3 separate regions of the Homo sapiens genome follow, and all the other regions are linked to region 1. The links are contacts of gene promoters, found by promoter capture Hi-C in human tissues and cell types (Jung and others, 2019). All regions are on one chromosome and are shown on one strand. The core of a region is centred on a gene start or on the middle of the fragment in contact, and the rest is flanking DNA. Distances in the headings are between cores, read along the strand shown.

The links. Contacts are between HindIII fragments. The study calls those that stand out against the background at their distance.
Region 2: the fragment with the promoter of ZNF786 here is called in contact with a fragment that was not itself captured in region 1 in 1 of the 25 tissues and cell types used here (adrenal gland).
Region 3: the fragment with the promoter of CUL1 here is called in contact with a fragment that was not itself captured in region 1 in 1 of the 25 tissues and cell types used here (lymphoblastoid cells).

What each region holds. Positions count from the first base shown.
Region 1 is chr7:148,947,739-148,950,438 of GRCh38, forward strand. No RefSeq gene overlaps it. Among named protein-coding and RNA genes, the nearest start is that of GHET1, 38 kb to the right of the region's middle. The HindIII fragment of the contact is 6,313 bases long and covers 1-2,700 here.
Region 2 is chr7:149,089,375-149,092,074 of GRCh38, forward strand. It overlaps ZNF786 (zinc finger protein 786), which reads right to left and starts at 1,344. Exons shown (of 4, transcript NM_152411.4): 1 at 1,249-1,344. The coding sequence starts at 1,266. RefSeq lists silencers at 1,286-1,585, 1,706-2,195. The HindIII fragment of the contact is 46,746 bases long and covers 1-2,700 here.
Region 3 is chr7:148,697,487-148,700,186 of GRCh38, forward strand. It overlaps CUL1 (cullin 1), which reads left to right and starts at 1,417. Exons shown (of 22, transcript NM_003592.3): 1 at 1,417-1,543. RefSeq lists silencers at 272-331, 992-2,021, 2,322-2,421 and enhancers at 602-651, 1,719-2,444. The HindIII fragment of the contact is 3,848 bases long and covers 1-2,140 here.

The sequences.
Region 1 (2,700 bases), core at 57-2,556:
GAATTTGCTGTTCATGTAAAGCCTGACTTTTTTTTTTTTTTTTTTTTTTTTTTTTTTAGTTAGTAATATATCAGACTTCGACTAGAACTTTCCACTCCTTCAGCTAACCCCTGCTGCTGCTATGCCCAAGGGCAATTCGATCAGAGCCCATGCCAGATTTGAAGGCTGGCCCTTATGGAAGCCACTGCCTTTGTTACCCTGCCAGAGACCTCAAGAGAACTACTGAGTTACTTTAGAGGGTTCCTTGACTGCTAAACCTCGTTTGACTTTCTTCTGCTGCTTGTAAGGGTGTCCAGCTGAGTCTATCCCTTCTGGCTCTAACCAATAGACAGATCCTTGCTGTTCCACAGTTTCATGGGACTGGACCCCCTCCCTTGGGTCTGCTCTCTGTTCTGGAAACCACGAAAGAGTCTTGTTTATTCCTTTTTTGTGTGTTGCCATTTAGCATATCCTTTGCTGTTTCCTAATAATTTGCAAATGTGTCTTATATCCCCAAATAGATAATAACTTCTTTAGTAGTGGGTATGCAATTGTATTCGTTTCATTAGCCTCAATGCCTTCTACATAGGAGTTGCTTGTTTTAAAAACAAGAACCCAGGCTGGGGTGGTGGCTCACCCCTGTAATCCTAGCACTTTGGGAGGCGGAGGTGAGAGGATCACTTGAGGTCAGGAGTTCAAGACCAGCCTGGCCAACATGATGAAACCCTGTCTTTACTAAAAATACAAAAATTAGCTGGGTATGGTGGCAGGCAACTGTAGTCCCAGCTACTAGGGAGGCTAAGGCAGGAGAATTGCTTGCACCCAGGAGACGGAGGTTACAGTGAACCGAGATTGCACCACTGCACTCCAGCCTGGGTGACAGAGCTAGCTAGACTCCATCTCAAACAACAACAACAACAACAACAAAACATAAAAATTAAGCTGGGTGTGGTAGCTCACGCCTGTAATGCCAGCACTTTGGGAGGCCAAGGTGGGTGGACCACTTGAGGTCAGGAGTTCAAGACCAGCCTGACCAACATGGTGAAACCCCGTCTCTACTAAAAATACAAAAAATTAGCCGGGTGTGGTGGTGCACATCTGTAATCCCAGCTACTCGGGAGGCTGAGGCAGGAGCATCGCTTGAAATCAGGAGGCGGAGGTTGCAGTGAGCCGAGATCATGCTGAGAGGTGACAGCATGCTGGCAGTCCTCAGAGCCCTCGCTCGCTCTCGGCACCTCCCTTGCCTGGGCTCCCACTTTGGTGGCATTTGATGAGCCCTTCAGCCCCCCACTGCACTGTGGGAGCCCCTTTCTGGGCTGGCCAAGGCCAGAGCCCACTCCCTCAGCTTGCAGGGAGGTGTGGAGGGAGAGGCACGAGCGGGAACCGGGGCTGCGTGCGGCGCTTGCGGGCCAGCTGGAGTTCCGGGTGGGCGTGGGCTTGGTGGGCCCCGCACTCGGAGCAGCCAGCCAGCCCTGCTGGCCCCAGGCAATGGGGGACTTAGCACCCGGGCCAGTGACTGCGGAGGGTGTACTGAGTCCCCCAGCAGTGCCGGCCCACCGGCGCTGTGCTCGATTTCTCGCTGGGCCTTAGCTGCCTTCCCGCAGGGCAGGGCTCGGGACCTGCAGCCCGCCATGCCTGAGCCTCCCACCCACTCCATGGGCTCCTGTGCGGCCCCAGCCTCCCCAACGAGCACCACCCCCTGCTCCACGGCACCCAGTCCCATCGACCACCCAAGGGCTGAGGAATGCGAGCGCACGGCGCAGGACTGGCGGGCAGCTCCACCTGCAGCCCCGGTGCGGGATCCACTAGGTGAAGCCAGCTGGGCTCCTGAGTCTGGTGGGGACGTGGAGAGTCTTTATATCTAGCTCAGGGATTGTAAATACACCAATCAGCACCCTGTGTTTAGCTCAAGGTTTGTGAGTGCACCAATCGACACTCTGTATCTAGCTGCTCTGGTGAGGACATGGAGAACCTTTATGTCTAGCTCAGGGATTGTAAATACACCAATCGGCACTCTGTATCTAGCTCAAGGTTTGGAAACACACCAATCAGCACCCTGTGTTTAGCTCAAGGTTTGTAAATGCACCAATCGACACTCTGTATCTAGCTGCTCTGGTGGGGCCTTGGAGAACCTGTGTGTGGAAACTCTGTATCTAACTAATCTGATGGGGACGTGGAAAACCTTTGTATCTAGCTCAGGGATTGTAAATGCACCAATCAGCACCCTGACAAAACAGGCCACTCGGCTCTACCAATCAGCAGGATGTGGGTGGGGCCAGATAAGAGAATAAAAGCAGGCTGCCCAGCCAGCAGTGGCAACCTGCTCGGGTCCCCTTCCACGCTGTGGAAGCTTTGTTCTTTCACTCTTTGCAATAAATCTTGCTACTGCTCGCCCTTTGGGTCCACGCTGCTTTTATGAGCTGTAACACTCACCGCGAAGATCTGCAACTTCACTCCTGAGTCCAGCGAGACCACAAGCCAACCGGGAGAAATGAACAACTCCAGACACGCTGCCTTAAAAGCAGTAACATTCACCGTGAAGGTCTGCAGCTTCACTCCTGAGCCAGTGAGACCACGAACCCACCAGAAGGAAGAAACTCCAAACACATCTGAACATCAGAAGGGACTAACTCCAGAGGCGCCACCTTAAGAGCTGTAACACTCACCGCGAGGGTCCGCAGCTTCATTCTTGATGTCAGTGAGACCAAGAACCCACCAATT
Region 2 (2,700 bases), core at 94-2,593, 140 kb after region 1:
CGCCATCTCAGTTCGCTGCAACCTCCACCTCCCGAGTTCAAGCAATTCTCCCTACCTCAGCCTCCCGAGGAGCTGGGATTACAGGCGTCCGCCACCACACTCAGCTAATTTTCGTATTTTTTAGTAGAGACAGTTTTTCGCCATGTTGGCCAGGCTGGTCTTGAACTCCTGACGTCAAGTGATCTGCCCACCTCGGCCTCTCAAAGTGCTGGGATTACAGGCGTAAACCACGGCGCCTGGCCTGAATGTCACAAGTTTTAAAATCCATTCTTTTACTCATTAATAATTTATTTTCAGGTCTGTGATTTGGCTGTTTATATCCTTTCCCCATATATATAGGTATGTATATATTTTTGGAGACGGAGTTTCGCTCTTGTTGCCCAGGCTGGAGTGCAATGGTGCAGTCTCGGCTCACTGCAACCTCCGTCTCCCGGGTTCAAACAATTCTCCTGCCTGAGCCTCCCGAGTAGCTGGGATTACAGGCGCCCGCCATCATGCCAGGCTAATTTTTTGTATTTTTAGTAGAGTTGGGGTTTCACCATGTTGGCCAGGCTGGTCTCGAACTCCCGACCTCACGTGATCCACCCGCCTCGGCCTCCCAAAGTGCTGGGATTACAGGCGTGAGCCACCGCGCCCGGCCTAATTCATTTAATAATCAGCAAAAATCCTCAACATTAAAGTTTACAAGATAAAAATACCCTCTAAACCTCGATTTTAAGAAACCACTAACTTAATTTTTTGTATCCTCTTCTACTCTTCCCAACGTATCATCTTACACTCAACCCAAATCACGCTAGACAATAAATTCTGACATTGAAGCCCCCGCCAAACACCATTTCAACCATTCGGAATCTTAAACTTTTTGGAACAGTTGTTCTGATTTCGGTGACTATGATGTAAAACTGGTTGACCTGTAACATCCACCTCTGGCCCCAAACCTTTCTATCCTTTCCACCGTCCGCTCCCCGTCCGCCCGGCATCCTCGCCCAGGCTCCGCCCCGCTCCTAGGTCGGCCTCGGTCCACGCTCGGCTTTGTCCAGGGGTTTGGCCACGGACAAGCCGCGGGAGCGGAGGCCACCTGCTCACCGCAGGGCCCGGAATCCACATCCCCAGCAGAAGCAGCCTGCAGACTCCGTCCTACCCGTGCACCGCGCGCACTCACGGGGACCCCAGGACACGGGCGAGCCCGGAACCCGAGGACCCACCACGACCCCGAAACCGGGCGTCCAAACAGGCTAGCCCGCTTACCCGAGGCGGCTCCGCCATGGTCCCCGCGGTCCCGCCCGGCCCTGGCAAACCCGACCGTCTCCGGCGGCTCCGCAGGAACCTGCCCTGCTGCGCACTGACTCCCCTCCGCTCCGCCCCAACCCGACTCCCACGCACAGCCCGGGTGGCCCCCAAACGCAGCGCCGGCCGGGCGCGGTGCATGCTGGGACCCGGCGCCCGGCCGCGGCTGCCGCTCAGTCCTACAGCGCCTCCTGCGGGAGGAAGAAGCGGCGCTGCCTGAGCGTCGGTCCTCAGAGGAGGGACCCAGGGGCCCGGGCGCCCTCAGAGCAGGCCGCAGCACGCCGGTCTTTGAGGGACCCTCGGATTCCCGGGATCTGGGGAGGGAAGCGGTCAGAGACAAGCTGAGGAGCTGGCCGGAGGGGAAACGGAGGGGCAGGACATGGAGAGATCAGGGACAGGGACAGGGAGAGATCAGGGACAGGGACAGGGAGACGCGCTCCACAGAAACCCAGACTGAGAGGCAGCGAGAGGGGAACCTCCGGTGCGGTTCCTCCCAAAGCCGCCCCCGAGACAGGCTTCGTCTGTGAGGGGGTCCCGGGAATCCAGCGAGGCCGGAAAGTGGGTGGGGGGCGCGCGCTGCCCGCGGTGGCCCGGGGCATCCGTCCCGCCGGGGGCGCGGAGGCCGTGGGGGCCCCATGCTTGTCCCGCCGGGGACGCGGAGGCGGGGTCCGCCCACCAGGTCCGGTCGCCGTGGGTCTAGAGCCCTCCGGGCTCCCCGGGCGGCCACGCTCCTTCCTTAGCAGAGAACGGCCTTGGGCAGAGACCCCATGCGGAAGCCACCCCGGCCTCAGGGCCGCCTGCAGGGACTCAGGGTGGCCCAAGGCTGCGGTCGGGCACCCCGGGCCCCGGCAGGAGACAGAGACAGAGTAGGAGGAGAAGACGGAGGAGGCCATGACACAGGGCGTGAGAAACACGAGAACGCAAGAACAGGGGAGAGGTGGGGAAACCAGGAAGAGACAGAAAGGAGAGAGGGCGAGGAAGGGGGTGGCGATTGTCTCCAGAAAATCAACCTCGCATTCTGTCTTAGTCATGTCTTAGGTGTCAGGCTGAAGTAGCAAAGGAAAAGTGTGTAGTTTGGAGAGGATGTGCATAAGAAATAAAATAGTCCCTGCGTAGGCTGAGGAGCATATACGCATCTGTGTTTGCCACAGAATCGTGAAATGTACATGCACCTTACTGTTTAACGTTTTTTATTTTTACAACTGTTATACAGTACAATTTTTTTTTTTTGGAGACAAAGTCTCACTCTTGTCACCCAGGCTGGAGTGCTGTGGCGCAATCTCGGCTCACTGCAACCTCTGTCTCCTGGATTCAAGCAATTCTCCTGCCTCAGCCTCCCGAGTAGCTGGGATTACAGGCATTTGCCACCACGCCCGGCTAATTTTTGTATTTTTAGTAGAGACGAGGTTTCAC
Region 3 (2,700 bases), core at 167-2,666, 250 kb before region 1:
ACCACATTTCAATAGAAGGATCACACAGACCAGTGGGATGTTTCTTCTGAGATAACCCACTTTATGCAGGAAACAGTGTGGACTCTGGGGACGGCCTCTGCTCTGGCTGAGGATTTCTGTCCCAGAGCGGTACAGGAATCTGCGTAGTGTTTTAGTTTGGAGAAAACAGGAAGTTACACTCATCACATCTTTTGCCCAGATGATAGAATTCGAAATCCCCCCGGGGTTGTTCATGGAATGAGCCGCTCTGTTATGTTGTGAGCCGTGGTATTAATCAGCCACCCCTCACTAGGTGTTGGGGTTCCACCACGCTTCCTCCACCCCCCGTCACCACAGCAGCGGGTAGTATTTAGGTTGAATATTCCAAATAGTCAATTATGACAGTTAATTTCAAATGAGATGACTTCGAAGTACACGTGAAAACAATACTATTTTATATCACGACTCATGCCATCCGTATGTGTAATCAAAGCCTTCTAAGTCTTGATATGTCCTTACAAAGACGAAGGATAGAGTGAATGTCAAAATTTGCCAAACAGGAGTTACTGAAAGTCTGAAGGGGAAAGCCTAGTTAGGTTTTATCTTAGAAGTGATTTTTAAAACGAAACACGCAGATAAGCTCGAGCTTTCTGGAGCCGATTCCTAAGGCCTTGCAGGTGGTAAGGGGGTCGAGAATTGGCTGAGGTTCCTCGGAAGTCCGCGCCGATTCGGAGGGCCACCTCTGACTTTCTGATCTGGGGTGCAACCCCCAGTCCCTGTCCCGGTCGACAAAGGTGTGGAGTCAGGTTCCAGGCAAGCTGGGGGTGGGGGTGCGCACAAGGGAGGGGCAGGGGACTGGGACCCCCTCTTCTTCGGGGTGCTTCGGGCCGTTTCTCCAGAGGCTGGTGGTGTCCCCGACCCAAGCAGCTCAGCCCCGCTCGCGAGGTCCGAAGTGGCGGGAACGGGTCCTCCGCGGCGGTCCCAAGGCGAGGGAGGCTGTAAAACCTGGCAGAGAATCCGGCGCGCCGGGTCGGGGATGTCTCGGGTGCCGGGGGCAGGGGCCGCAGGCTCGCAGGTAGAAGCTTCCCCACGCGAGCGGGGGCCTCGGCCGCGGAAGGGGCGCCCCCGGGGCCGCCGGCAGCGGCGAGCGGGCGGGAGGGAGCTTTCCGGGCCCCTCCCGCGCCTCGGGCTGGCGGGGCGATGGCGACGACGGTTTCCCGGCTCCCCCGCCCCGGACGCCGATGGCGGTGCGTTCCGGCCCTCCCCCAACAGCTTCTCCCCCGCGGTCGCCGGAGCCGGTGAGGCCGAGAGGGCGGGGAGCCGCGCAGGGAAGGCGAGAGGGCGGAGGTTGCGTGGTGCAGGCGGCGGCGGCGGGAGGAGGAGGGCCGGGCGGGCAGGGGAGGAGGAGGAGGCGGGCGCCGTGTCGCACGCAGCTCCAGGCGGGGCAGCCCCGGTAGCTGAGGGACGCAGCTAGACCTTGGCGGGACGGGGCTTTCGCCGGGGCCCAGGCCCAGGGACCAGGCGGAGGCGTCGCGGGAGCCTTTGGGGCACCACAGAGATGCGGGTGAGTGTCGGCAGCCGCCGGGGCCGAGAGGAGGTGGCGGCGGCGGCGGCGGCGCAGGCCCGGCCCCGAGCCGCGGTGTCGCAGTGACTCGGGCCGCGACGGCCGAAACCAGGCGCCTGGCGAGGCCTGAGCCGCCGAAACGCGGCCGGGCAGAATGGCGGCCGGGCCGGGGGACTCGTGGGCGGAGGACGCCGAAGGTGGCAGAGGAGCGAGCGGGGCCGGGCCCTGAGTCACCCCGGACGGGCCGGGGCGGCCAGGCCTGGACTACGCACTGGGAAAAAGCACGATTCATCGCGCCTGGAGGCGGCGGCCTGGTGGCGCCGGCCCCTTTCCCCGCCGCGACCGGGCTGGGTTCTCGGAGGGTGGGCCGACGTGTGGCCCGGGGCGGCTCGGGCGTCCGCGCCTCGCCTGGTGAGGCGACCTCCGCGGGACGCCGGGACCCGTGCCCTTGCCCCCTCGCGCCCACGCTTCTTCCCGGCGCTGCTTTCCGGCCGACGCGTGTTCCCCTGTGAGCTCTGGGCTCAAGCGCAGGAGCAGCCGCGGAGCCGGGCTCTCTCGCTTTCCGGTTCCCTGCCCGCGGCTCTCGGGTTCCCCGCCTGCATTGTTGCGAACGTGCAGGGCGCTATTATTGGGTAACAGTCGCCCTTTTGCCCCGTTCTCCTGGGAGAGCGGGCCGGGGCATGCGCGCAGGGATGCTAGCCCGGCGGCCGAACCGGACAGAGCCCCCCGGCGCCCGCCTATCGCTCGCTAGTCGGGCCGGGCCCTGCGCTGCGGCCTCGGCGCGCCCCCGGTCCCAACGGGAGCGCGCGCCCTGACCCTGAGGGTAGCCGTGCGCCCGCCAGGCCGCTGGGACTTGGGGTCCCCAGACTCGGGGGTCGTCGCTTTTTTTTCCCTTAAGATCTGAAAGACCCCCGTTTCTGCCACCCGTGCAGTATTGTGTAGCGCAGACATAAGATAAGAAAGAGAGGAATGCTTGTAGACATTCCTTGAAATGAATCCCCAAAGTTAGGGTTTTCTCCCTGGCTGGCTTTGCCAAAAAGAGGATTCTCTTTTCCGATTGGGTCACTCTTGGTTGCTTCTGGTTCGTAGTAGGGGTTAGTGGTAAGTGCGCAAATACTGAATTGCAGTCTACTTAAATATTTGTTTGCTCTGTGTAA